5 separate regions of the Homo sapiens genome follow, and all the other regions are linked to region 3. The links are contacts of gene promoters, found by promoter capture Hi-C in human tissues and cell types (Jung and others, 2019). All regions are on one chromosome and are shown on one strand. Each heading gives the region's core, a stretch centred on a gene start or on the middle of the fragment in contact. The rest is flanking DNA. Distances are from core to core; before and after follow the strand shown.

Region 1 (5,082 bases), core at 1,504-4,003, 120 kb before region 3:
TTGTGAACAAGAAGACCTGGAACTTCAGGTGACTAGAAGCTCAGAGTGAGCCAGCTATGTTTGATGATAGTTATTCTTAAGATCACACAGAGAAACGGCAAGCAAGCTGCTTTGGGCAAAAAAGAGCATTTCTACACTGTTCAGACTGCCTCTGTACTGTTAGAATAGGTCTAGGGCGTGTTGCGTGAGTGGTGACTGAGTAAGATGTTCAGAGGGAAGCCGTGACCGTCATCTTGGAATATTGTTTGAAAGTCTGACCTGTACAAAGCAGCACTCACTTCCCCTGCGTGTCAGACACCTGCATGAGGGCTGGGGAGGGTCCAGTACAGGAAAGCGCATTTTTAATATGTGTATGGAGGAAGTTCGTCAAGATGGGTGCCATCTGGCAGTGGAGTAGCACTTCCTGGAAAGTAATGAGCTCCCTTGGACTTTGTTTGAAGAGTCACCCAGGTTTTTGTAAAGAAGTGTTTCAGATCAGTATGCAATGGATGACTGTAAATTTCTCTTCAGATCTAAGAATCTGTGATTGGATGAAAGGGAGAAAGGACTGCATAAGTGCTTGTTGCTTGTAAACTGGGCCAGGTGGATGTCATGGCCCTAGGAGCTTCTTGCCTGCCTTTGCATGCCATAAAGCAGTCCTGCAACCCAGTGTCACCTCAGAGGGATGGGAATGTAGAAGAAGAGAGTGAATAGGGACAGTGATGAGGGGTGAAAATATGTAACTCCTTGCCCCTTCTGTATACCCTAGTACATTAGGAAGTTCACCCTTGTCTAGGCTTCCTGTTAGGAAGACAGCAGACTCAAAATGGAGTCTCAACCCCTTTCAAAGACTGCAAGATCTCCTTGTACACACTGGACTTGGGAGAAAATGAGAGCTTTCAGGCCTGCTATCTTAACAGGTTCAGAAAGGTGTGGTCCAGCCCCCTGACTAACCAGCCCTGCTGTGCACACTGAGAATTCTGCTCAGGTGTACCTTTCTGTGTGCTCCTGGGTGCACCCCCAAAGTGCTGGTTCTCTTGAAAACCTTTTTATTTAGGTTCAGACAGACAAACTGTGGTATCTTCCATTCTGACCATAAAGTGTTTCTTCTGGGTCTAACTACTATAGTGGGATATTTTCTCTAGAACAAGAGGTTGTTTCTTTTTGGCATTGAGAAATGTTGCCGATGTGATTTTCTTTTGTGAACGTTTAAGACACAGCGCTTGCCACTTGAACTTTCTTTTGCCGTGCGTAGCTGATTCCACATAATGGCTGCAGCTCCAGGCAGAAACCTGTTTGGAAGTTGTTTTAAACTCTTCCTGGAATCTCTAGGCAGTGGCTCAGTGGGGTTTTTTTCCAACCATTCCTTAGGATGACCAGAAGCTTGACAGAATCCTCTTGTCTTCATTTTGAGAAAATATGTCTTTACTGTGTGTATGTGCAGCATTTGGTTTTACCTCGTGGGTCTAAGCATTTTCAACTAAGCTTCCTTTTCCAACCTAGCAGACTTGTTTAAAGAACTTCAAACTAATAGCCAAGCTGTAATACGGTGGCTCTCTCAGCCTGAGAAGCCTGTGCTCACCGTCACTCTCTTCTTCCCTGGGGTGATAGGGATGGGGAGTAGTGTGTGTGAGAGGACAGAAGCGAGGATTGATTGAAGATTATTTTACGAGGCGAGAGCATGGTGGCACACCTGTCAGCTGAGTGGACTCAGCGCCTGCCCCGGCTAGGCTGTCCTCCTCCTGTGCCAGCCGTGGGTTCCCTGAGTCCCTCTGCAGTCATTCATGGGTGCTGAAAATAAAGATACCCTTTCTGTCGAAAGTGTTCGCCGGGCTGCCTCTGCCTCCCTGGAAAAGCAGCAGGGCACACAGGCTTCCTAGGCAGCCCCTGAGGGAGGGGCTCTTTTTATTGTCACTCTGGTTAGTTTGAAGACCAGACAGAAGGCAGCAAAAACCAACCCTTTGTTGAAAACTCTTTGCCTTTAGGCCCTTGGTACCATGTTCATGAGGCTCCAGATAATTCCACAAATACATTATTATTGTTACCTAGACTTGGGGACAGAGAAGGGTGAAACATGGGTCTGGGAATTCACAGATGAATATACTGTAATCCCCTCGAGCACATTTCTTTTAAAGGAATGGGGGTATTCTAAAGGAGTGAACACTCCACTGGGGGGCTGCTAGGCCCCTGTGAACGGTGGCAGCCTTGGCCACGGTGTGTGCTGTGATCTCTCCTGGGTCCCCCGGGCATCCTCAGACCTCCCCCACACCCAACCCACAGTCCCTTCTCCATCCATCTGCTGACCACACCCCAGGATGTTTCCAGCTCAGATCACGCCTGATTGCATCCACACAAACTGCACGCCAGGCATTTCCGTTTGGATGTGTACACAAAAACAACACGTCCCAGACTGAGCTGATCTTTCTGTACCCCTCAAAAGAAAAGTTCTGTACCCGGCCAGGCCTGGTGGCTCACACCTGTAATCCCAGCACTTTGGGAGGCCAAGGCAGGAGGATCACGAGGTCAGGAGATTGAGACCATCCTGGGTAACACGGTGAAACCCTGTCTCTGCTAAAAATACAAAAAATTAGCTGGGCATGGTGGCGGGCGCCTGTAGTCCCAGCTACAGGAGAATGGCAAGAATCCGGAAGGCAAAGCTGGAGCTTGCAGTGAGCTGAGATTGAGCCACTGCACTCCAGCCTGGTGACAGAGTGACACTCCGTCTCAAAAAAAAAAAAAAAAAAAAAGAAATTCTGTACCCTTCCAGATGGTCCTGGACATATCTTGAATCTACCCTGCTTTTCCTCATCTGCACTGCTGTCCTCTTGATCTGGGCTACTGAGGCTAGAATGCACATCTGATCATGTGCCTCCTGCTTAAAATAGTATTTTTCCTCTTAAGAGTAGTCCAAACTCCTATTGCTGGATTAAAAGGCTGTTCCAGGCTCTCCCTACCTCAGGGCACACCATCTTTCCTCCCAGTCTCCCCTCCCCTCTGTCTCCAGTGCTTCCATCCTTCAGTCATGCTGAGGTTGTCTTTGTTACCTTTGCTTCTCTTGGCCCGCACTCTCTGTTGGCTCTGCCAGCATCCCTATGCACCTGCTAGCTCCTACTCACTTGTCCAGCTTTGGCCTGGAAGTCCCTTCCCCTGGCAGGCAGCCCTAAGCTACCCTTTGCTTGCTACTGGCTCATATTCTCACTGCTTGTCCTCAGGCTGTGAGCCCTGGGAGGGCTGGGCTGAGTCCCCGAACCTGCCACGTCTATAGGGTGTAACCTACCTGAGGCCTGACTGCTAAAATCAAAAGAAGCCTTTCTCATTTGCTTAGCTGAGCTAAGTCCTTTCTGGAGAAGAATGCCCACGTCCTGGGTGGACTTCTGTTCGGCCTGGGGCAGGACGCTGCATGTCAGTTCACCTAGAGCCCCTCGCTTGCCCTCACCCCTCTCCCTTTCCTTCTCCTCCCCGTGTTGTCTCATGGTCAGTTCCTCTCCTGGCAAGGCAAGAGAATCATAAAATCTCTTTGGACCATGTGTCTCTCTGATGCACTTTGGAGGTTGAAGCTCACTTTCGTGAAGTTAGGAGCGGTTAATCCTCCTGCACGAGGATGCATGCCTGCTAGGGAAAGCCTCCCTGCGTTTATATGGAACAGTGGTGTGTACCTTAGGGCAACCCAGAAACAGCTGAGATGGCCCTAAACTCTTCCGTATTTTGATTCAGAAGCTTTACCTTATTTGAACATCTGCAGAATAAGTTCTTTCCTTTAGAAATGATTGGGGATAAAATTGTTTGCATTATGAAATATTGTATGGCCAGGTGGCCCCTCTTTCATGTTTTGTTCCTTGTGAAGAGGTTGAGTCTCCTATTTTTTTTTTTTTTTTGGAGATAGAGTTTTGTTCTTGTCCCTCAGGCTGGAGTAAAATGGTGCAATCTTGGCTCACTGCAACCTCCGCCTCCTGGGTTCAAACGATTCTCCTGCCTCAGCCTCCCAAGTAGCTGGGATCACAGGCACGTGCCACCACACCTGGCTAATTTTTGTATTTTTAGTAAGAGATGGGGTTTCGCCATGTTGGGCAGGCTGGTCTTGAACTCCTGACCTCAGTTGATCTGCCCGCCTCGGCCTCCCAAAGTGCTGGGATCACAGGCGTGAGCCACCACGCCCAGCCTATGGTATGCTTTTAAAAATGGTTTCTCTGCACTAATGATTATTTAAAAAAAAAACTCTGGCAAGAACAAAAACAAATGGTTTTTTAAAAACTCTAGAAATAATTTGATACATTCGAGGACTCTGGAGAGGGAGAGAGTTAAAGGCTGATGTGTGTGACTCTTTTTCCTCTCCCCCCAAGGAAAAAAAATGAAGAGAAGGAGCTTTTAAGTGCAGTGCCTCGTTTTTATGTGATTGCAAACCTGAACCAATCCTTTTAGTGGTGGATGTGGGACATGTTAGCTTTTCCAACAGTTTAGATGGGCCTTTGTTTTTATTGTTGGTCACTGTAAGAATTCCAAGGAATAGAAGGATCTCATGGGCAAAATCAGTTTGCTTTTTTCTCTGTATATTTGTTAGTTTATAGCAGCTTCTATTTTCCTCCTATTTTTAAAAGCTGAAATGCCTTTAATCGCACTCAGTGTGTTTATTCATGGAAGCCAGAGAAGAGGGTCCCTTCCTTTCCCCCATAGCGCCGTAATTGGAAATTTGGTAGTACTAGGTGAAATTCTCAGTTTTGGCGCTCGCATGGAACAGCCATCCATCTGCTGGCGAGACACACTGCCCGGGGCTTTTCAAGAAATCCCTTAATGGTCCTGAACACTAATAATATTTATATACATTGAGATGAGACAAAATTTACAGCGGGCTCTGGGGCTGGCTCCAGGACTCTCTAATCCCACACTTGCTCACGTTCTCTTGCTTGCCTCCTAGAATCCTTTCAGGTTGTGCTTCAGTGAGGGGAGCATGGTGTCCGTCTCTGCAGCAATGCTTATTTATGCAGTTCGTCCTCTAACAAACAGAGCAACTTTCCTTTTGACCTTCCCCTCTTCTCCCCATCACATTCCATTGCTGCCCCCGCATAGAGCATGTGCTTATGCATAGTTTGCATCATTTAACACGAA
Region 2 (5,496 bases), core at 636-3,135, 71 kb after region 3:
CTGTCCTATTTACTCCCACCACTAATCTGAATCTATAAATAGGGTTTAAATATTGCCCCTCTGGCTGTTTACTACACAGTCAATTATTTACTTTTAATTAAGAGATTTCCAAAGAGCATCCTTCCATTTCACCCTTGCAGCCAAACAACAGAGGGTGTGGCCTTTCCACAAAGAATGACTTTCTGTAACTCACATCCAAGAAAAGACACTGAAACAGGAAGAGACTAAGGAGCAGCTCCTCTCTGACTTGAAGGAAAGTCAGGCTTAATGATGATAATTTTTTCCCCCAGAACTTAAAAAAAAGCTGTATGCTCACTACGTGATGCAGGATGAGGCCCGAATCTGGCACAATTCCTGGTCCCAGGTCTGTTCCGTTCGATCCTTGGTTGCTTCCTGCTTGCCTCCGTCCTTCACCTCCCCAAGAGTTCGGCAAAACCCTGGTTGTCGAAATGCTGTAGTGTGGATAACACGCCATCTAGTGGTTAACAGGACAATTGCAAAAATAGCTTCACAGGTCATATGTCAAACTATTCCAAAATTGGGCTTCAGACCTCAGTTATCTATGCCACTGGTCCTCAGGGTTTGCTTCACATGAAAATCACCTGAGGAGCCTTTAAAAATCTGATGTCCAGGCCGTACCCCATCACAATTAAATCAGAATCTCTGGATGTAGGGCCCAGACATCAGCGTTTTTAAAAATCCCCAGGTGATTCCAAAGGGCAGCCAAGCTTGAGAACTGGTGACCTTTGCAACCAAAACAATGGATTAAAAGGTAGAAACACTTTATGCAGTGATTATAAATCACATGTATCATAAAAAACATTTCCTGTATAAAGCATATATAGAGGTTGCTTTTTTCCTTCTTCTTCATACTTGGATTTTATTGATTTTGTTTAGACAGGGTCTCACTCTGTCCCCCAGGCTGGAGTGCAGTGGTGAGATCTCGGCTCACTGCAACCTCTGCTTCCTGGGTCCAAGCGATTCTTGTGCCTCAGCCTCCCGAGTAACTGGGACTACAGGCGTGTGCCACCACGCTCGGCTAATTTTTGTATTTTTAGTACAGATGGGGTTTTGCCATGTTGGCCAGGCTGTCTTGAACTCCTGACCTCAAGTGATCCACCTACCTCAGCCTCCCAAAGTATTGGGATTACAGGCATGAGCCACCATGCCTGGCTTACAGTAGTACTTTAACATTGCTTTTTCAACTTAATATGTTATGGATATCTCATATAGTCAATACGCTAGATCTAACTCATTTTCTTTTTAAAAAACTTTTATTTTAGGTTCAGGGGTATATGCGCAGGTTTGTTATATAGGTAAACTCATGTTATGGAGGTTTGACGTACAGACTATTTTGTCACCCCAGTATGAAGCGTAGTTCCCAATAGTTATTTTTTTCTGATCTTCTTCCTCCTTCCTCCCTCCACCCTTAGGTGGTCCTCAGTGTCTGTTCTCTTTTTTGTGTCCATGTCTTCTCATCGTTGGACTCCCACTTATAAGTGAGAACATGCAGTATTTGGTTTTCTATTCCTGTGTTAGTTTGCTAAGGATAATGGCCTCCAGCTCCATCCATGTTTCTGCAAATGGCATGATCTTGTTCTTTTTTATGGCTGTATGGTATTTCATGGTGTATATGTACCATATCTTCTTTATAAAGTCTACTATTGATGGGCATTTAGGTTGATTCCATGTTTTTGCTATTGTGAATAGTGCTTCAGTGAACATAATGTGCATGTATCTTTATAATAGAATGATTTATATTCCTTTGGGTATATACCCAGTAATGGGATTGCTGGGTCGAATGGTGGTTCTGTTTTTAGCTCTTTTGGGAATCGCCACTCTGCTTTTCACAATGGTTGAACCAATTTACACTCCCATCAACAGTGTATAAGCATTCCCTTTTCTCCACAACCTCACCAGCATCTGTTATTTTTTCACTTTTTAATAGTAGCCATTCTGACTGGTGTGAGATGGTATCTCACTGCAGTTTTTATTTGCATTTCTCAAATGATCAGTGATCTTGAGCTTTTTTTCTTACGCTTGTTGGCCACATATGTCTTCTTTTGAAAAGTGTCTATTCATGTTCTTTGCCCACTCTTTAATTAGGTTGTTTTCTCCTTATAGATGCTGAATATTAGACCTTGCAAATATTTTCTGCCATTCTGTAGGTTGTCTGTTTACTTTGTTGATAGTTTCTTTTGCTGTGCAGAAGCTCCCACATTTTATTAGATCCCATTTGTCAATTTTTGCTTTTGTGGAAATTGCTTTTGGTGTCTTCACCATGAAATCTTTGCCAGTCCCTATATCCAGAATGGTGTTGCTTAGGTTGTCTTCCAAGGCTTTTATAGTTTTGGGTTTTACATTTAAGCCTTGAATTCATCTTGAGTTGATTTTTGCATATGGTGTAAGGAAGGGGTCTAATTTCAATCTTCTGCATATGACTAGACAGTTATCCCAGCACCACTTATCAAACAGGGAGCTCTTTCCCCATTGCTTGTTTTTGTCAGCTTTGCCAGAGATCAGATGGTTGTAGGTATGTGGCCTTATTCAATGCTATTCCTATCAAACTACCAAGGACATTCTTCAGAGATCTAGAAAAAACTATTTAAAAATTCATATGGAACCAAAAAAGAGCGCAAATAGCTAAGGCAATCCTAACCAAAAAGAACAAAGCTGGAGGCATTACCTTACTCGACTTCACATTTTACTACAGGGCTACAGTAATCAAAACAGCATGGTACTGGTACAAAAACAGACATTTAGACCAGTGGAACAGAGCAGAGAGCCCAGAAATAAGGCCTGATTTTCAATAGCTGTGAAAAATGAAAAAGCATCCGTAAATATGTGTCCTTTGAGGTATAACATCCACCAGTGGATTTCTTTGGTTAGATGGTGTATATGTTTGACATTTAACCAAAGCTTCTGGCCAGCGTTCTTCATCCAAAGGACAGCAATTCACTCTCCCACTAACACTGTATGAACTGTTCCATCTACACCTTCATAAGCACTGAATGCTATCAAGCTTTTTAATTCTTGCCAATATGATTTGTGAGAAATGCTATCATGTTACCTTATAAAATACATTGCATTTCCCTGTCTAGTGAGTCTGGGGATCTTTCATTTATTGACCATTTTCATTTCCCTTCCTATGTATTGCCCAGTCACGTCCTTTCTGCATATTTCTATTGGGTAAGTTTTTTTCCTTATCAGTTCCAAGAGCTCCTTATATATTACAGATATTAACTCAGAAATCAAGAATGTTGCAGATATTTTCCCCAATCTGTTCTTGTGTTTTAACTTTTATTACTTTTTATTTATTTATTTATTTGAGACAAGGTCTTGCTCTGTTGCCCAGGCTGGAGTGCAGTGGCCCAATCACGAACTCCTGGGCTCAGACAATTCTCCCACTTCTGCCTCCATGCCTGGCTAATTTATAAATTTTTTTTGTAAAGACAGGGTCTCCCTAGGTTGCCCTGGCTTCTCTTGGCGTCCTCAAGTGATCCTCCCACCTTGGCCTGGCAAAGTGTTGGGATTACAGTCATGAGTCACTGCACCTGGCCATGTTTTAACTTTTTATAGTCAAGCTTGTCTTTTCTCTTCTGGATTCTAGATTTCCTGTTATGCATAAGCAATACCCCCCACCCATGCCATGCTCCAATCTTGAAATTATACACATTTTCTCCTAAATTTATTCCATTTTTTTATTTTTCATTTAGGGTTAATTCATTCATAATGATTTTATTCATGGCTGGAGGTGTTATTTTCCAGATCAATAACCAATTATGTTAGCAGTATTAATTAAATAAATCATCTTCTCTCCCACTGAACTAAAATGCCATCTTTATCATGTATTAAATTTGAATATATACTCAGATTTTTTTTGACTTTCTGGTCTTCTGATCTGTACACTTATTTATAAGCTAAAGTCATACAGTTTTAAAATTATTATATTAGTTTTCTAGAAAGTTTTAATAGCTGGTAAGGGAATCCCACCCACTGTCTTTTCACAATTAAATATTTTTGTTGTCAGTTCTAAAACATTTAGAATTTCTCCAATATAAATGCTAAGTACTTTTTGTATAGCCCCAGGAAAACACCATTGATATTCTGATTGGAATTAATTTAAGGTACATATTTATTTGGAAATCACTGACATTTATGATGATTAATTCTTCCCATTCAAGGACATCCTGTGTCTCACAATTAGTTGAAATATTGTTTTTACACCCTGTAACAAAATGTATAGCTTTCTTCATGGAGGTCTCATAATTTTTGGTAAATTTTAACAGTTAATTTTTCTAAGTAAATAATATAATGGCTATACAGCACTTAACCCAAAAATCCAGTGTGTAGTAACTATTACAAATGTTAGGTATTAAAATTATTGTTGTTATTTTGATTATTAGCTTTACTTATTCTCATTGAGTAAAATCATAGAAAATATAAAGCTTGAAAAAGCTCTTTGCTGGTTAACTCACATGGACCCTCGATATTGTAAAAATGTAATTTCTCCCCCAAAATTGATCTATAGAATCAATACAATTCCAATAAAAATTCTAGGAGATTGTATGTGTGTGTGTAAATTCACAAGTTGCTTGTAAAATTTATATAGAAAGACAAAGAGCCAAAAATAACCAAGCCAATCTTGAAGGAAAATAAGAGGACTTATACTAGAGGATATTGAGACTTCTTATGAAGCTCAATAATTAAGACAATGTGGTATTTGGAGCAAGATTAGACAAATGACGAATAGAACAGAATAGTCTAGAGGTACACACACATGCTCAATTTATGACAAAAGTGACAAGTCGGAGCAATGGGAAGGTATGATCTTTTCAATAAACAGTGCTGGGTCAATTAGAAATCAATGTTTATGTTAATCTCTATAAACATTTTACACTAAAATCAGTTCCAGATGGATTATAAATCAAAATATAAAAGGTAAAACAAGAAAACATATAAAAGACAATATAGGAGAATGCCTTCATGACCTTGGGATAGACAAAGATTTCTTTCACAGGATACAAAAAAACAAAAGAAAGTAAAATATTGGCTGGGCATGGTGGCTTATGCCTGTAATCCCAGCACTTTGGGAGGCTGAGGTGGATGGATCACTTGAGTTCAAGAGTTCAAGACCAGCCTGGCCAACTTGGTGAAACTCTGTCTCTACTAGAAATACAAAAATTAGCCAGGCATGGTGGTGGGCAACTGTAATCCCAGCTACTCAGGAGGCTGAGGCAGGAGAATAGTGTGAACCCAGGAGGTGGAGGTTGCAGTGAGCTGAGATCACAGCACTGCACTCCAGCCTGGTTGACAGAGCAAGACTCCATCTCAAAAAAGAAAAAAAAGTAAGTAAAGCATTAATAAATTGACCTATATTAAGATTAAGAACTGTTTATTGAAAGGCACCATTATTTGGCTCAGCATAAGAAAATCAATCAATGCAATATACCATATTATTGGAATAAAAGAGAAAAAACAACATGACCATCTCAA
Region 3 (5,026 bases), core at 610-3,109:
CCTCTTTAGTAATCCCTGCCAGAGCCCCTCATTGTGTTTGGCCATTATGATTTGGTAAAATTTGATTGCTCTGAAAACTAATTCCACAAAATATGTGAGATGTGAGCAGAAAAAAAAGAGAGAAAACCATAGATGAATCTTATGGCGCCTGCCTTTAAAATATTGATTGCAAGCACCGCTGCCTAGGAGCTGTGGGTCCTCAGGGAAGTTAACCTCTGTGCTCAGGTTTCCTGTTTTGAGAAACGAGGATCGCAGCACCGGATCCTGTATGGATTCTTTCTGTGCCCCAGGCACTGTCCCCAGCTTCATCAGCCCTGAGGAACAGAGGCTTGCCACCTAGCTAGCGTCTGTGCAAGCTTGCTAGCTCTGTGCTCACCACCCTGCGTTCTACCTGCGAAAAGTGCTTTCTTGACACTGTGCTGGACTCCTTAAACATGCCACTGACAGTGAGCCACAGCCGTGGCATGCCACCTGGCTCTGCAGACAGTCCTCTTTTTAATGTGTCAGAATAACTGAAAAAGGCTAACATTTGAGGCTATTTCCTCTATCGAAAAAGCTGTTTTCCAATATCTTGATCTTTCGGAGAATTCTATTTAAAAACAAAACAAACTTTTGGCCAGGTGCACTGGCTCACGCCTTTAATTTCAGCATTTTGAGAGGCCAAGGTAGGAGGATAGCCTGAGGCCAGGAGTTCAAGATCAACCTGGGCAACGTGGCAAGACTGCATCAATTATTTTTTTCAAAACGTGGTATATGCCCATAGTCCTGGCTTCTCAGGGAGGCTGAAGCGGGAGGATCACTTGAGCCGTCAGTCGTAACTGCACCTCTGCACTCCACCCTGGGTGACAGAGTGAGACCCTGTCTCTAAAAATATTCTTAAACTTTTTTTTAAACTGAAAATACTTTTTTCCTGAAGCTGTATATTAAGAGGAAGAAGACCCATGATTCTCTGTCCCCATCTAGGTCTGGGGAGGAGAAGCTCCCTTCAGGGAAGCAGGCAGAGCCTCTCAAGCACCCTGCGGCCTCTAGAGAGCTCAGTGTGACAGCAGGACCACGTGGCTCCATCTGCTGAATTGTCCTCCTGATATAAAGCGCTCCCTTTTAATTGGGATCACCCCCGCGGATTAGACCCCCCTTGGTGGCTTTCTGGGATTCTGAACCAGGAACAATTCCCTTTAATTAGCTCCTGGTGTGGGCTGCAGGCCTCTTCACTGCCAACAGGTGGGAAGCGCCATTTGCTCCCACTAGTCTCCCACTCCCTGTCCTGAGAAGCTGGGCCCACCTTGCCATGAGTGGGATGCAGAGGATTTTTGTACTTTGCCTCATTTCACAGAAGTTACCCGGTTTCTCAATATACCCCGGATGCACTTGTAGACTTGGTCTCTACCTCCTCTGGTGAGCAGCTCTCCTAGCTCCTATCACTTACCTAGTTCCGTCATGGTGTGTCCAGAATCGGCGGATTCTTGGTCTCACTGACTTCAAGAACGAAGCCGCGGACCCTGGCGGTGAGTGTTACAGTTTTTAAAGGCAGCGTGTCCCAAGTTTGTTTCTTCTGATGCTCGCATGTGTTCGGAGTTTCTTCCTTCTGGCAGATTCGTGATCTCGCTGACTTCAGGAGTGAAGCTACGGACCTTCATCATGAGTGCTACGGCTCTTAAGGTGGCGTGTTTGGAGTTATTCGTTTCTCCCGGTGGGTCCGTGATGTGGCTGGCTTTAAGAACGAAGCTGCAGACCTTCACGGTGAGCGTTACAGCTCATAAAGGCAGTGCGGACCCAAACAGTAAGCAGCAGCAACGGTTATTGCAAACAAGCAAAACAACAAAACTTCCACAGCACAGAAGGCGACTCCAGCAAGTTGCTACTGCTACCTGGGGCAGCCTGCTTTTATTCTCTTATCTGGCCCCACCCACATCCTGCTGATTGGTCCATTTTACAGAGAGCCGATTGGTCTGTTTTACAGAGAGCTGATTGGTCCGTTTTGACAGGGTGCTGATGGGTGCGTTTACAATCCTGGAGCTGGACACAAAAGTTCTCCACGTCCCCACTAGATTAGCTAGATACAGAGTGTGGACACAAAGGTTCTCCAAGTCCCCACCAGAGTAGCTAGATACAGAGCGTCGATTGGTGCATTCACAAACCCTGAGCTAGACACAGGGTGCTGATTGGTGTGTTTACAAACCTTGAGCTAGATACAGAGTGCCCATTGGTGTATTTACAATCCCTTAGTTAAACATAAAGGTTCTCCAAGTCCCTTCCAGACTCAGAAGCCCAGCTGGCTTCACCCAGTGGATCCCGCACCAGGGCCGCAGGTGGAGCTGCCTGCCAGTCCTGTGCAGTGCGCCTGCACTCCTCAGCCGTTGGGTGGTCGATGGGACTGGGTCCTGTGGAGCAGGGGGCGGCACTCGTGGGGGAGGCTCAGGCCGCGCAGGAGCCCATGACGCGGGGGAGGAGGCTCAGGTATGGCGGGCTGCAGGTCCCGAGCCATGCCCCGCACGGAGGCAGCTAAGGCCCCGCGAGAAGTCGAGCACTAACAGCTGCTGGCCCAGGTGCTAAGCCCCTCACTGCCCGTGGCCGGCGGGGCGGGCTGGCTGCTTGGAGTGCGGGGCCCGCCGAGCCCACGCCCACCCGGAACTCGCACTGGCGCGCAAGCGCGGCGTGCAGCCCCGGTTCCCGCCCGCGTCTCTCCCTCCACACCTCCCCGCAAGCTGAGGGAGCCGGCTCTGGCTTTGGCCAGCCCAGGAAGGGGCTCCCACAGTGCAGCGGCGGGCTGAAGGGCTCCTCAAGTGCCGTTAAAGTGGGAGCCCAGGCAGAGGAGCCGAGAGTGAGTGACGGCTGCGAGGCCTACCAGCATGTTGTCACCTCTCAGTGGGGGCTTGGCTTCCTCTGCACAGTTAAAGGAAGAGATTGGACCATTAAGAAATGCCCACTTCTTCTTTTTTTTTTTTTTTCAGATGTAGTCTCGCTCTGTTGCCCAGGCTGGAGTGCAGTGGCGCGATCTCGGCTCACTGCAGCCTCCGCCTCCCAGGTTCAAGCAGTTCTCTCCCTCAGCCTCCGGAGTAGCTGGGATTACAGGCACCTGCCACCAGCCCTGGCTATTTTTTGTATTTTTAGTAGAGACAGAGTTTGACCATCTTGGCCAGGCTGGTCTTGAACTCCTGACCTCGTGATCCACCTGCCTCGGCCTCCCAAAGTGCTGTGATTACAGGCGTGAGCCACCGCGCCCGTCCAGAAATGCCCACATTTGTAAAGTTGGTTGCTGCTAGGGTCCAACTCTGCTATCAACATTCACCTATGAGGTCTGGGAATGGGAACTTGTGTTTAAGGAGACTCCTTAAGTGCAAAGACTGCCCATCTTTAACCATACTACTTTTCTGATAACAAAGCTGAAATTTTCATCATTTTTTTTTTGATTTGACAGGAGCTATTATTTTAACTAAACTGGAATGTGTCCTGCAGTTTTCACTTTCCCATAATTCACTTATTTTTTTCTGTTCTAAAGTTTTCTCTAATTTTGAAATTAATAGAAAAAACAACACAAAATATTTTACTTAGTCACAGTGATATGTCTATTTTTGTATTCATTCACCTCCCCTCTCCCCACACAAGAACCCCCCAGCACATTCCTACTTTCTGGAATGAAAATAGCTCTGAGAAGTATGGATTTTGAGGTTCAACATCTGCACTTTTATTTCTTTTTCCATTGTAAAAACAAATGGTCTCTAATAATTGATGTCAAACACAGTCTTTAGGCTGATGAAATACAGTAAGCCTGAGAACGAATAAGGCAACTAAATGGAGCTGTTTTATTTAACAGAGAGCACAGTGATCTTCCTTACAAGCGGGATTCCCGAGAGGAAAATGTTTGTAATCAGATTTGACTCTAGGATTAAGAGGGCAAGGTGCGACCCTCTTAGTGAACCGGAAAGTAAGCAACGGTACACAAGTGTTCTCACCAGGGACAGCAAATGGGAGTTGCCAAGATTACAAGATCCCAAGACCTCAACTATTTCACGTGCTGAACTAAACTCAAAACTTTGTGGGATTTGTTTTAAATTTCTCATTGGCAAGTGGTGACTTCCTGCTCTCGCAAGAAAAAAGATTAAAGGGGTTTGTTTACTGTCTCTGACACAAACAGCTCTTACAACACATTTTGTACACTTGACATAAATGAAATTTAATCAAACTGGTCAAATTCCTTTGGGAGGTGGGGAGAAAATAAATCAATCAGCAAGAAGCACTTGTGATTTCCAAAATAATGATAACATAAGTCTTTCTCCATGTCAAACATCACTGTTTCCAGATAAGCGACTTAGCTCTACTATAAAACACAACCCATAGCCAAATTGCTTCTTGTCAAAGCACTAAGGGATCCTCCAATAATGTCACTCTACCAAGGCAGATTCAGAACTCACCCTCCTCTATACCTCTGCCTCTGCAGCTTTGTACCCCAGCAGGGGCCAGCCAGCACACGATTTCTGAAAAGGGCCATAAAATAAATGAATAAATGTAGTAGACTTTTTTTTTTTTTTTTTTGAGACAGGGTCTCACTCTGTGGCCCAAGCTGGAGTGCAGTGGTGCAATCTCGGTTCACTGCAACCTCCGCCTCCCGGTTCAAGCAATTCTCGTGCCTCAGCCTCCTGAGTAGCTGGGATTACAGGTGTGCACCACCACACCCGGCTAATTTTAGTAGTGCCTGTAGTCGCAGCTAATCGGGAGGCTGAGGGAGGAGAATGGCGTGAACCTGGGAGGCAGAGCTTGCAGTGAGCCGAAATCGCATGCTGCACTCCAGCCTGGGCGACAGAGTGAGACTCTGTCGCAAGGTGATATTTCTGTTACATTTTGTAGGAGAAGGATTTGTCTTTATTTTTCTTCTGTCTTATATTTTTCCCTCAGACTTTTGCTAAGCCTTGATCACTTTTTTTTTTAGGGACTACAGCTCCTTGACTGCAAAGTAACAACTGTTGCAAAAGGAAGTTTTCTACTTGTTAAAATCCAGTAGCTTGTTACCCCTATTGTTTAAATACTG
Region 4 (5,291 bases), core at 2,678-5,177, 97 kb before region 3:
CGACTCACTTGTGTGCTCACTGCACCCCTGTGCTGGCAGGACTCCAACCTCCACCCCCAGCACTTGTGTGGACAGAGAGCCCAGTGCTCAGGAAAGGGTTGGGCTTCAGGCTTGTGATGCAGATTCCGTGGTGGCTCTGTGACTCCTTCTGGTCGTTCTTAAAGTAGACAGGGAGCTTAGATGTCACCTGTGCATTCCCCTTGTTGTCCTACGAGTGAGTAAACAGGGCTACAGATAGCACTAAGGGATCTGCGCATGGCTGTGCAGCTCATTCATGGCATTTCTGGTCCTGGGTCCCAGTCTCTGAACTCCTTCCTGGTCTGACGTCCCTTTGTGAATGTTCAGGAAAATGTCACAGGGCTGCTTGGCAGCATTGTAACCATAATTTGTGCTTTACTGTAAATGAGAATCAGGCTGAGGATTGACCAGCTGGTTAGAGGTCCTGGTTTGGGTGTAAATGAAGACCCTCACCAGATGCAGAGAGATCCCCAATGGACATAGCCTCCAGGGCAGACGAAGCCTTAGGGGTTCTGTTTTGTCCTGGCTACGCTGGCTCTGCAGGGAGGGCTGGGGTTCTTTCTCCTTTGTGTGTTTATACATTAGATCTGTGAGTGGATCTTAGAAGTCACTCAAAGTACTGCACTGATTCCCAAACTTAGTAAGAAGCAGAGCAGGAAGAGGAGAAGAAGGATTCACGGTCCATGGGGATCAGGCCCATCAGCACAGAGGACTCAGAAGTCAACCCTGGCATTGTCTGCTGCCTTCCTGGGGAAGCCAGAGAGAAAGGCCCACTGCGGGGATCTTTCTCTAGACCTAAGCCGTAGCTGTCTGCTTTCTTGCCTCTCCAGGGATGGACTTGTCCTGCCACCTGGGTAGCCAGATAGAACGGCTTCCTGTGCTGGTTGGATCTGCTACTCGTGTGCACACCCTCTGGGGCAGAAGCCACGTCTGGTTTGGTGGGCTTTGGTCCTCCACCACCTCACTGGAACTCAGCCTCTCCTAGATTGCTGGTTCTCCACGTGTGGTCCAGGGACCACAGCAGGGGTCAGCACCACCTGGGATTTGTGATAAATGCAGATTCTTTGCCCACCCCAGCTGAATCAGAAGCTCTGGGGGTGGGGCCCAGCCCTTTGCAAACAAGCTTTGTGCACACTGAACTTGGAGAACCACTGTGTTGGACTCCGAGTCCTCTTGCCTGGATGAGAGGCCCAAGAGCACTGCATGTTAGTGGCTCTTCCTCCTCCCCCACACCTCCAGGGACTGGAGCTGGGGCTGCTCAGAATGAAAGATGAATGGGGGAGGGAGAAGGCCCAGGGTTGACCCCCCACAAGCTTGTCTCCCTGTCTCATGCTGTCTCCTATCCCATCATGCTGCTGATTGGGCAGGATTTACTTCCATGGATAATGGGAGACTTTAGAGCAAAGTGTACGCTGTTCCGATTGGGTAGCAGAGCATGTCTGTTCTCTCATGGACTGCTTTCAAGCACGTTGTACATACTTGGCTGAGAAAAATAACCAAAGGCATTTCTTGGGAATGATTCTAGTAACATCCTCTGGTACAAGAAGCATTATTTGATGGTAATAGTGGTCATAGAATTAATTAGCATCTTACCGATTTTGATATGTTATCCTTGAATCATGTTGCTGCCATTGTTAACAGCAACTGTCTGTTCTCCTATAGTGTTAATAACTAAATCTCTTATTGGCAAAGGAAATGTATTGTGGAGCAGGTGGCAAAGAGGACCTGTGTTACGTGGCCAGCAGGCTAGAGGGGACTGTGGCCAAGGGCAGGTGCGCTAACATCGATTTCTGTGCTTCTAGGAATTACTCCTTCTACGTCCTCGACAACCAGAACTTGCAGCAACTGTGGGACTGGGACCACCGCAACCTGACCATCAAAGCAGGGAAAATGTACTTTGCTTTCAATCCCAAATTATGTGTTTCCGAAATTTACCGCATGGAGGAAGTGACGGGGACTAAAGGGCGCCAAAGCAAAGGGGACATAAACACCAGGAACAACGGGGAGAGAGCCTCCTGTGAGTGACAGCATCCAAAACACCGTGGGCCCAACCATCATGATAACAGCAGACCCTCCTCCCATGTGTGATGGCAGCTTTCCTCTGCGGCCCCTCCTGGTTTCACATGGGGGACCACTAGACCATCTTAACTAGCACTTTGCTCCTACTTATATGTCATCACAATCAGTAGTGGGCAGATACGTGATGTATTCGTATTTATAAATTCTGTACATCTCTGTGAGTGTGTGAAACACTTATAAGTAGGTTCTCAAACTTTAAAGTGCTGCTTACAGAATGCACAGTTAAATGTCCTTTTATACACAGGTGCACAGTTAGATATTTCTCTTTCTTTTTTCTTTTCTTTTTTTTCTTTTTTTTTCTTTTTTTTTTTTTTTTTTGAGATGGAGTCTCACTCTGTCACCCAGGCTGGGGTGCAGTGGCATGATCTTGGCTCACTGTAACCTCCACCTCGGTTCAAGCGGTTCTCATGCCTCAGCCTCCCGAGCAGCTGAGATTACAGACACCTGCCACCATGCCCAGCTAATTTTTGGATTTTTAGTAGAGACGGGATTTCATCATGTTGGCCAGGCTGGCCTCAAACTCCTGACCTCAAATGATCCACGTGCCTCAGCCTCCCAAAGTGCTGGGATTACAGGCTTGAGCCACCATGCCCTGTCCGATTATTTTTCAGGGAAGAGCCAGTGTGCTTCAGCCCTATGAGCTCTACCCTTCTGCTCCCACAGAAGGGAAGCACAGGCCTGTGGGGTGGAGGGGGCTCTGCCCTAAGCGCAGCCCCTGTGGGCCACGGGTTTCCTGTCCCTTACACTCGGCCGCCTTGTTTCTCCCACCCCAACATGAAAAAGATGGAGTGAGCCTGCAGCCCTGAGTTGATATTGCTTTTTAAATTGAGAACAATATAATTACAGCCTTGTACTGTTTATAAAACTTTAAGGTCTCATATCAGAGATACAGCAGTGCCTTTCTCATCTAACCCTGTGTAGAATACGGCTGTTGAGAATGGCGTGGCTCTCTGGCTGGATAGGGTTATAAAAGTAAATCGTCTTTTCACCTTTGGCTTTTAATAAGGGAAGGGTATTAGAAAAAAAGTAATTTGTATGATGAAGGGTGATTTGTGCGTGTGTGCAGACAGACACACATGCAGGGAGGCAAATCAGAACCGATGCGTGTTTGGCTTTGGCTTGTTTCGCTGGTGTCTGGATTTACCTGGCGACACTTGTTGCTCTGGGGGATCTTAGAGGGAAGCACGCTGACTGACCTAGGGCTGAACAGCAGGCTGACGACCAGCGCCGCCTCCCGCCCCCTGCTCACTCTATCCCTGCAAAGCCCCTGCCTTGCTCCCTGTTCAGATCATAGTAAAATCGGATGTATCCGAGTATTTCAGAGTGCTTGTCTCCTTAGAGTCAGCCAGTCTGACCTGTCAGATCATAATACATAGTAGCCGTTTATTTTCTTTTGAAAGCAAAATCATGGTTTCCTCTCTAAATAACACTTCAGCAGGAACTGTGACATTTCCCAATCTCAGTTGCGCACATTTTGTCCTAAAGACTTCTTAGCTCTTTTACTGTCTTCAGTCCCTCTGCTTCACCTCTTGAGTGTGTAGTGGGATTCAGGCAGATAAGAGGGCGAAAGGACAATTCGTCAGAGAGCTCTGGGTCTCCATGAGGGTGGGCAGTCATCAGTCTTTCCCTGGTCCTTATCGTAGTTTGAATTTGGTCCAAGGAATAAGAGAGACACTTGGCACAGCTTCCCTGCCATACCCGCCAGCCAGGCTACTTCCCATAGAGCACGTTAGGCTTGGCCAAGTGAGATCTTCTTGTCAGTGCTTAATCCAGCCTCCCGTTGTTTGTCAGCCCTAGCTGGAGGCCTCACAGGAGTTCCTGTGTCCTTCCAGTTTGATACCAAGTTTAGACCAAGAAAAGTTCCTTTCTGTGGCACACCTGTAGTCTCTTACCTGTCTTTGGTGGTTGTACACGAACAGGCAGATATCCACAACTGCAGAACAAGTGTCATCGTCTCTCTTAAGAAGTTTCAGGGCAGCCTAAAGGCTCACCTTCACCCTACCAGGCCCCCTTTCATAGCCAGGATCTTAGGGATGGAGAAGAAAGATAAGTTCACCTCGTTCACTGAAGTCGCCCCTTGTTTTCAGGTTAGGAAACCCAGGTTCATGTCCAAGTCCCTGGGCAAGTAGCCAGCGTAACTGATTGACCTAAAACAAAGGATGGAGCCCTTGGAGCTCTGCATAGTGAAATGTATGATTTCTTAGTGGAAAACGAGAAAGCCACTGAGGAAGCCCAGAAGGGAACTTAGCATATACAGCCAGCTTTGGGGAAGGGGGAAGCAGTGCCAAGCAAGACAGGTGCTTTTCAGAGACACATGAATCTCTGTCACTCACGGATGTACTCTTTGCCCCAGGTGAAAGTGACGTCCTGCATTTCACCTCCACCACCACGTCGAAGAATCGCATCATCATAACCTGGCACCGGTACCGGCCCCCTGACTACAGGGATCTCATCAGCTTCACCGTTTACTACAAGGAAGCGTGAGTTTCTGCTTTGGGTGATGCCATTCTGTTGACAGGGCTACGAATGGGAGAGGCCAGTCTTTCGATCCTTGAATGGGCTGGCTGAATACAGGGGGTCAGCAGAGTCCCCAGGGAGAGCCACGCCAAACATCCCTACTTCATCCTCATGCACCCTCTCGGGCTGTCCCTGTGATGTCAGTCACAGCCAGTGACAGCCATGATTGGGAAAGTGTTAGCTCGAGGCCTGTCATTCTTTAGTGAGTGATTAGAGGTGTTTGAATAAAATAAACCCAAAATGGGGAAAGCTTGCTTTTTCCAGAATTAGGTCAGTCCAGACTCATGAACGATGATGGGGGACTTCACTGAAATATCGTTTCAGCCTCCTTACCTACTAGGCCTACTCCAGGAACACCCTGCAGGCACGTGGCTCTTTTGTATCATCTTATTCCTGTCTCTCTCTCTGTGTGCCTCTCCCAAGCTGTGGCCCTCTGCTCTAGGTCATGAGCCTTCCAAACAAGCGAAGAAAAGTGGAGAGAGAACAACCTTCATGTCTTGAGCCTTTTGTGACTTCTCCTAGACTCTGTTGGGAGCTTTTCCTGTGTGATCACATGACATTCCCCCATCTAAGCAGCCGAGGCTTATTCCTCCCGACTGCAGCCCTCTTTGATCTCCCTCTTCCTTCCTTTGCCTTCTATATCCAGGTGGCTACCCCGGTCTACTTAGCCATCCCCC
Region 5 (5,682 bases), core at 1,638-4,137, 79 kb before region 3:
AGCTACTTGGGAGGTTGAGGCAAGAGAATCTCTTGAACCTGGGAGGCAGAGGTTGCAGTGAGCCAAGATATGTCACTGCACTCCAGCCTGGGTGACAGAGCAGAACTCCATCTCAAGAAAAAAGGAAAAAAAACAAAAAACAGCGCACTCAATAGGTCCAGCAATCTCACTTCTAGTATATTTCCAAAGGCAATGAAATAGGTATGTCAAACAGCTCTCTGCACTCCCATGTTCACTGCAGCACTATTCACAGTGGCCAAGACATGGAATCCACCTGATGTCCATCACTATGTATATGAATGGATAAAGAAAACCTGGTACATATACATTATAGAATACTATTCTACCATAAATTAGAAAAGAAAAATGTCGTTTGTGGCAACCTGGATGAACCTGGAGGACATGATGTTAAGTTAAATAAGCCAGACACAGAAAGAGAAATACCACATGATCTTTCTGATAATGCGGAATCTAAGAAGTTAAGCTCATGGAGAGTAGAATGGAGGTTACCAGGGGCTGAGGGTGAGGGAGCAGATTTGGGGAGATGTTAGTCAAAGGATACAAAATTTCAGTTAGATAGGAGGAATAAGTTCAATAGATATATTGTACATGATGACAGTAATAATGATGTATTCTTAAAAATTGCTGAGACAATAGATTTTAAGTGTTCTCACCACACACAAAAAAATGTGATGTAATACATATGTTAATTAGGCTCATTCAGCTGTTCTACAATGTATGCATATTTCAAAACAATATGTTGTACATGATAAATATACAATTTTTATTTGTATATTAAAATTAATTAATTTTAAAAAAGATCTCCAGTAGTCACCTGGTCAGCACCAGATATTCTAATCTGTTTGTGATATCTGAAAATCCTAATACAGACAGCAAAAGCAGGATGGGGTGAATAGAACTGCAAATCTTGAGCCAACATTTTATGTGCCTGGCACTGTTCCTGGGTTCAGGTTTTTAGGGGTAAATGGATGTTTAGGCAGATAATTTTGTCAATTAAAATAGTCTGAATTGTTCCATCTAGTCCAGTTAACCTAGTCTCACCAGTTAGTCTATGCCACCTTTGCAGCACCCAGAAGCTTCATAATATTCCTGCAGCCTTGTCCAGGGTAGTGGCTTGCTTGCTTTCTATCTTTCCCCAGCCTCCTTCCCTCCTCTTTTTCCTCCCCTCCATCTCCTAGAAACAGATCCTAGTTTGGGGGTCTGTGATCTGTGAAACAGCAACCTTGGCTTCTGGGGTTGAGTGAACTCAGCTTGTTTTGGTGACATGACATGTTCCTGTCTGGCTTTGCTGCTCCATTTTTAACCTTGTAAGTGCCAGGATGCCAGTGGGAAATCGGGAGTCCTTCTGATAGAATTTTTCCAGCAGATGTTATCACGTACTGCAGGGAAATTGGATCTGCGTGCTGGCCTTACTGTTGAGAAATTTTTCCTTATGTCAGACAAGACTCTGTCCTGCTACAGTTTAGTCTCATTTCCTCTTATTTAATCCTCAGAGGAGATGGAAGGTTTGGAAGCTTTCAGGCAACTGCCTTCCTTTTAGGAACTCCTTGTGTGCCTGAATACTATTAAATTACTCCTCAGACTTCTCTTTTCCAGATGAAATAATCTCAGGTCTTTTGGCCTTTTCTTGTAGCCCAATATCATACACCAGTTTCCTAGCCATTTAATCATTTTTGTTATTCTCTGGATGTGTTCCATTTTCTCCATGTCCCTGTTGAAATGTGAAACTCAAAAAGAACACAGTACAGCCTGACCAGTAGTATAAGTGATATAAACAGTGATATAAGGGCCTTGGGGGAAGAAAGAAAAATCTGCCAGCTTTCCGTTGGTAATGATCACCTCTGAGTGTTTTTAGGAATTGCAAAATGCTGGAGCCTGCATCCATTTTGAGAGCTACAATATCAATAAAAATATTTCTTTCTTCGATTAAAATACTTCTAATTTTAAAAATTAAAATAGCTGTAGTAGTCTTTAAAGAGTAACCATGATCACAGTTTTCCATGGCAAAATAATCATTGATAGGGGACTTACGATTAATGTTTACTTGATCCCCAGTGATTCCAGGCCCATTTCCACATAGACATCTGTATTTGGACGTCCCAGAGAGGTCTCAGATTCCTTGTGCCAAAACCAAAATCACAGTTGTTGCCCTCGAAAGGCCTCTTCTCTCCTTTGCTCCTTAGCTCAGTCAGTGGTCTTGTAATCCATTTGTTACCCAAGCCAGGAACCTCACAGCATCCTTCACTCTTCTTTCTGTTCAGCCACCCCTTTTTCATTCCAACCCAAGCCTCATGGATTCTGCCTCTTAAATGTCTCTGGAATCCAGCCCTCTGTCACCACCAGCACCGCCACAGCTCAGACTCCAGGTCACTCGCCTTGGGGGGATGGTATGAGCTGTCATACTGTATGAGCCTCATCCTGGGGCCATGACTTACCAAGCCAGATCATCTCTGTGAGTCTGCCTGGTGTAAAGACAAGGATCAGTGACTTCTTTGTAGGTCTGAACTGGGTAATGCAGAGCATGCCCTGGAGACATGGCATGTCCCCCCAATTCTCCAAGACATGACAGTGCCTTCTCTTACTGCCAGGTCCCTCCGTCTGTCCTCAGCACAGCCATTTCCCTGGAACGCGAATCTGATCAGTTCACTGCTGGGCCTGAAAGCTTTCGCTGACTCCTTTTAATCTGCAGAATGAGGGTGAAACTGCTTAGCTTGGGCTGGGTCCCTTGTGAGCTGGCCCTGACTTCTCTCCAGTATCATCATTTTCTAGGAAAGCCATTTCCCCACAACCCCCAAGGAAAGCATATCATAAACAAGTTTTCCCTTGGGGAGGTTCCCTCGACTCCCTTCTCTCCTCTCCCTTCCTCTCTGAATTGTTGCCATATGTGAAGTCCACTTTTCTAGTTGTCATGCTACCTGTTGACACTAATTTCCCATGTCCCACAGAATGTTCCAGGGTATGGGTCCATGTGCCTGGTGCCCAGCCTAGCATCTGCCATACAAGTGCTGGTTCTGATGATCAGTGGCTTCTGTGGTCTTAGACTTGTAGCAGGACTCAAATGTCTGCAGCGGCATTGGAAAGGGGTGCCGTCCAGTGTGTGCATGTGTGTGTGTGTTTATTTTAAATTGTCTGTGGAACTATCTCAAAGATTGAGGCCAGCAGGACTTGACCTATACATAGATGTAGACTGTACATAGATGTAAGAATTTCTATTCATTTTATGAAAATGAATAGAAATTTTCATTCTATTTATTAGAAATAGAATGCTTGCTGCTGCAAGCATTTGAGTCCTTTTACAGGTGTGAGATCACAAAGACCGCTTACCAACAGAACCAACACTTGTATGGCAGATGCTAGGCTGGGTACCGGGGACATGGACCAAACCCTGGAACATTCTGTGGAATGTGGGAAATTAGTGTCAAATGTATGCATTTTCACTAACAGTCATTAAACTGCGTACAAAGATTATTTTTCTTCAGTCTATCATTGAAACTATTGCACCAGAATATACTGTACTTTAAAAAATGAGTATATGCCTCAGTCTGCACATATTTACTCTTTTTTCAAATAATTGTTTGTTTGCCGTGTTCTATTTCTGACACCATTTACCTTCAGGAATTCTTACTGTATGATGGGGAGTAAACGAATATACAGGTATTTTTTTCATACTTCCAACTGAATGTGAAGAAATGAAATGAGCAAATTGTTCACCTGGTGATATTTTATCATTTCCTCCTCTTTGCTGCAGCAGGATATGAAAACTTCATCCATCTGATCATCGCTCTGCCCGTCGCTGTCCTGTTGATCGTGGGAGGGTTGGTGATTATGCTGTACGTCTTCCATAGAAAGAGGTCAGTGATGTGCAAAGTTATGACACTTTCTGTGGCTGAGTGGTTTGATGATTTGAATGTGAGTGAAGGTGATATTTTTGAAGATTTCAAGGAAATATTTTATGGACTGGAAAACCTGATTTTCCCATCAAATGTTCTTCCAGGAAAAGAGAACCTTTTCTAATGATTTTAACAACAGCCAAAATAATTTTTCGATGGTACAGACCTTCCCCTGGCTGGCTTTTCTGGTATACAGATACTGCTGCTGGTGCATACTTTTCCAAACGCGATGCGCTAGCCTTCCCAATCAAATAAGCCTTTTTATTTCCAATGAAGTAAAGAAACAGATGTTTCTTAAAAAGCGCTAATCTCAGGCTACTGAGGAAGCCAGAAGATGTGTTAGCAAATGTCTGCTGGCTCACCCAGGCCTGAATTGGGAGTGTAGACAAGAGCTGCTGTAGACAGTAAGCTCTCCCCATTCTGTTCTGATACCGTGTGAGAGAGGATAAATGAAACTGTTGTAGCGAAGATGAAAGTATATACAGGAATGTATGGAGGTGGGGTTTTGTTAACGTGAATTTAATCTTTTTGACAGAAATAACAGCAGGCTGGGGAATGGAGTGCTGTATGCCTCTGTGAACCCGGAGTACTTCAGCGCTGCTGATGGTAAGAGTCCGGGCCACCAGCACTGCCAGCGTGCAGGGCAGGTAGATCGGGAGCTTTCAGGAGGGTTGCTAATTTGGGAAAGGAAGGAGGTTTGCATTATTTTGAGCTACCTTTGGCCTTGGATCTGTCTTCATTAATATTTCTTTCTTTCTTTTTTTTTTTAATCAAAGTTTTTAGCAGTTCAGTGAATATGTCAAAACTTGTGGGACTGTATGGGGTGCCCCAAGGAAACACAGGCTTTAGAGATGAATGTGGCCAGCGCAGTAATCAATTTATTTAATTGCTTGAGATGTTATGCTAGAATGAAAACAGCTTTTTAATTGTTAACATCTAGTCAGAGGATATGCTGCAGCTGACAAAACAGTCCTTTTAAACTAGTTTCAGCTTGAGTATCATCTCATTATAATTGTCTTTGATGAATTACAGCTCTGCTTTTTTTTTTATCATGGAATTTTTCTGTCATTCCCTTCCGACTAGGGTCATACGCTCGTGGCTCATTCACATTCCCCTTGGTAATAACTAATGAGGGCCATTCAGTTAAGTGGCTGGGAAGGTCTGACATGGAAGTTGGGTGATCCTCAATGGTTATTTCCTTTTTTGCTCTTTCTAGCATTTTTATATCCAGACCTTTTGAGTGAGTCGGATTAGGGTGAGGGGTTGGTCACTGAGTCCAGTGATACTAGGACCCTTAACTGGCACTTTGCTAGGGGCTTTTACAAACACCATCCCATTTGTTTCTTAAACCCCTGCAATGTGCGTTTTCTTAATGCCCATCTGCAGGTGAGGAAATGAACTCTGGGAAAAAACTTGTGCAGGCTCACATGGTTAGACAGTTGAGAAGTCAGGAGGAGAATGGAATCACTGTGGAAAGGGCTGTGAGGTCCCCCGGGCAGGCAAGGAAACAGCCCTCAGGAGGGGCTGGACCGGATTCATCAAATGAATAATAAATAAGTGCATGATGTTGAGTGAGTACATTTAGAAAAAGTGTTTGCTGTCTTCTTGCCTCGGGAGAAGTGAAAGTAGATGCAGGAGATGTGAAATAAAGAGACATGATTATTCTAATTATTGTGATCAAATAAGAAAACATAAGAAAATACTTTAATAATGTGAAAACACCGTTATACTATGTAGGGTTTTACTATGGTTTCTTTAATAATTTCTAATT

The links. The method cuts DNA at HindIII sites, captures the fragments that hold promoters and counts their contacts. A contact is called where the count stands out against the background at its distance.
Region 1: a fragment that was not itself captured here is called in contact with the fragment with the promoter of PGPEP1L in region 3 in 3 of the 25 tissues and cell types used here (adrenal gland, bladder and mesendoderm cells).
Region 2: a contact is called between a fragment that was not itself captured here and the fragment with the promoter of PGPEP1L in region 3, in 3 of the 25 tissues and cell types used here (mesenchymal stem cells, mesendoderm cells and thymus).
Region 4: a fragment that was not itself captured here is called in contact with the fragment with the promoter of PGPEP1L in region 3 in 2 of the 25 tissues and cell types used here (H1 embryonic stem cells and spleen).
Region 5: a contact is called between a fragment that was not itself captured here and the fragment with the promoter of PGPEP1L in region 3, in 4 of the 25 tissues and cell types used here (H1 embryonic stem cells, aorta, liver and 1 more).

What each region holds. Positions count from the first base shown.
Region 1 is chr15:98,881,979-98,887,060 of GRCh38, forward strand. All of the region lies in intron 2 of IGF1R (insulin like growth factor 1 receptor), which reads left to right. Among named protein-coding and RNA genes, the nearest start is that of MIR4714, 100 kb to the left of the region's middle. RefSeq lists enhancers at 1,857-2,449, 2,450-3,042. The HindIII fragment of the contact is 5,456 bases long and covers 26-5,082 here.
Region 2 is chr15:99,076,425-99,081,920 of GRCh38, forward strand. No RefSeq gene overlaps it. Among named protein-coding and RNA genes, the nearest start is that of SYNM, 26 kb to the right of the region's middle. The HindIII fragment of the contact is 4,261 bases long and covers 1-4,016 here.
Region 3 is chr15:99,005,933-99,010,958 of GRCh38, forward strand. PGPEP1L (pyroglutamyl-peptidase I like) reads right to left here and starts at 1,860. Exons shown (of 5, transcript NM_001167902.2): 1 at 1,427-1,860. The HindIII fragment of the contact is 12,693 bases long and covers 1-5,026 here.
Region 4 is chr15:98,906,865-98,912,155 of GRCh38, forward strand. It overlaps IGF1R (insulin like growth factor 1 receptor), which reads left to right. Exons shown (of 21, transcript NM_000875.5): 6 at 1,821-2,035; 7 at 4,451-4,577. Among named protein-coding and RNA genes, the nearest start is that of PGPEP1L, 98 kb to the right of the region's middle. RefSeq lists an enhancer at 1,002-1,502. The HindIII fragment of the contact is 5,382 bases long and covers 1,237-5,291 here.
Region 5 is chr15:98,925,789-98,931,470 of GRCh38, forward strand. IGF1R (insulin like growth factor 1 receptor) reads left to right here. Exons shown (of 21, transcript NM_000875.5): 14 at 3,770-3,872; 15 at 4,447-4,517. Among named protein-coding and RNA genes, the nearest start is that of PGPEP1L, 79 kb to the right of the region's middle. The HindIII fragment of the contact is 6,138 bases long and covers 1-5,682 here.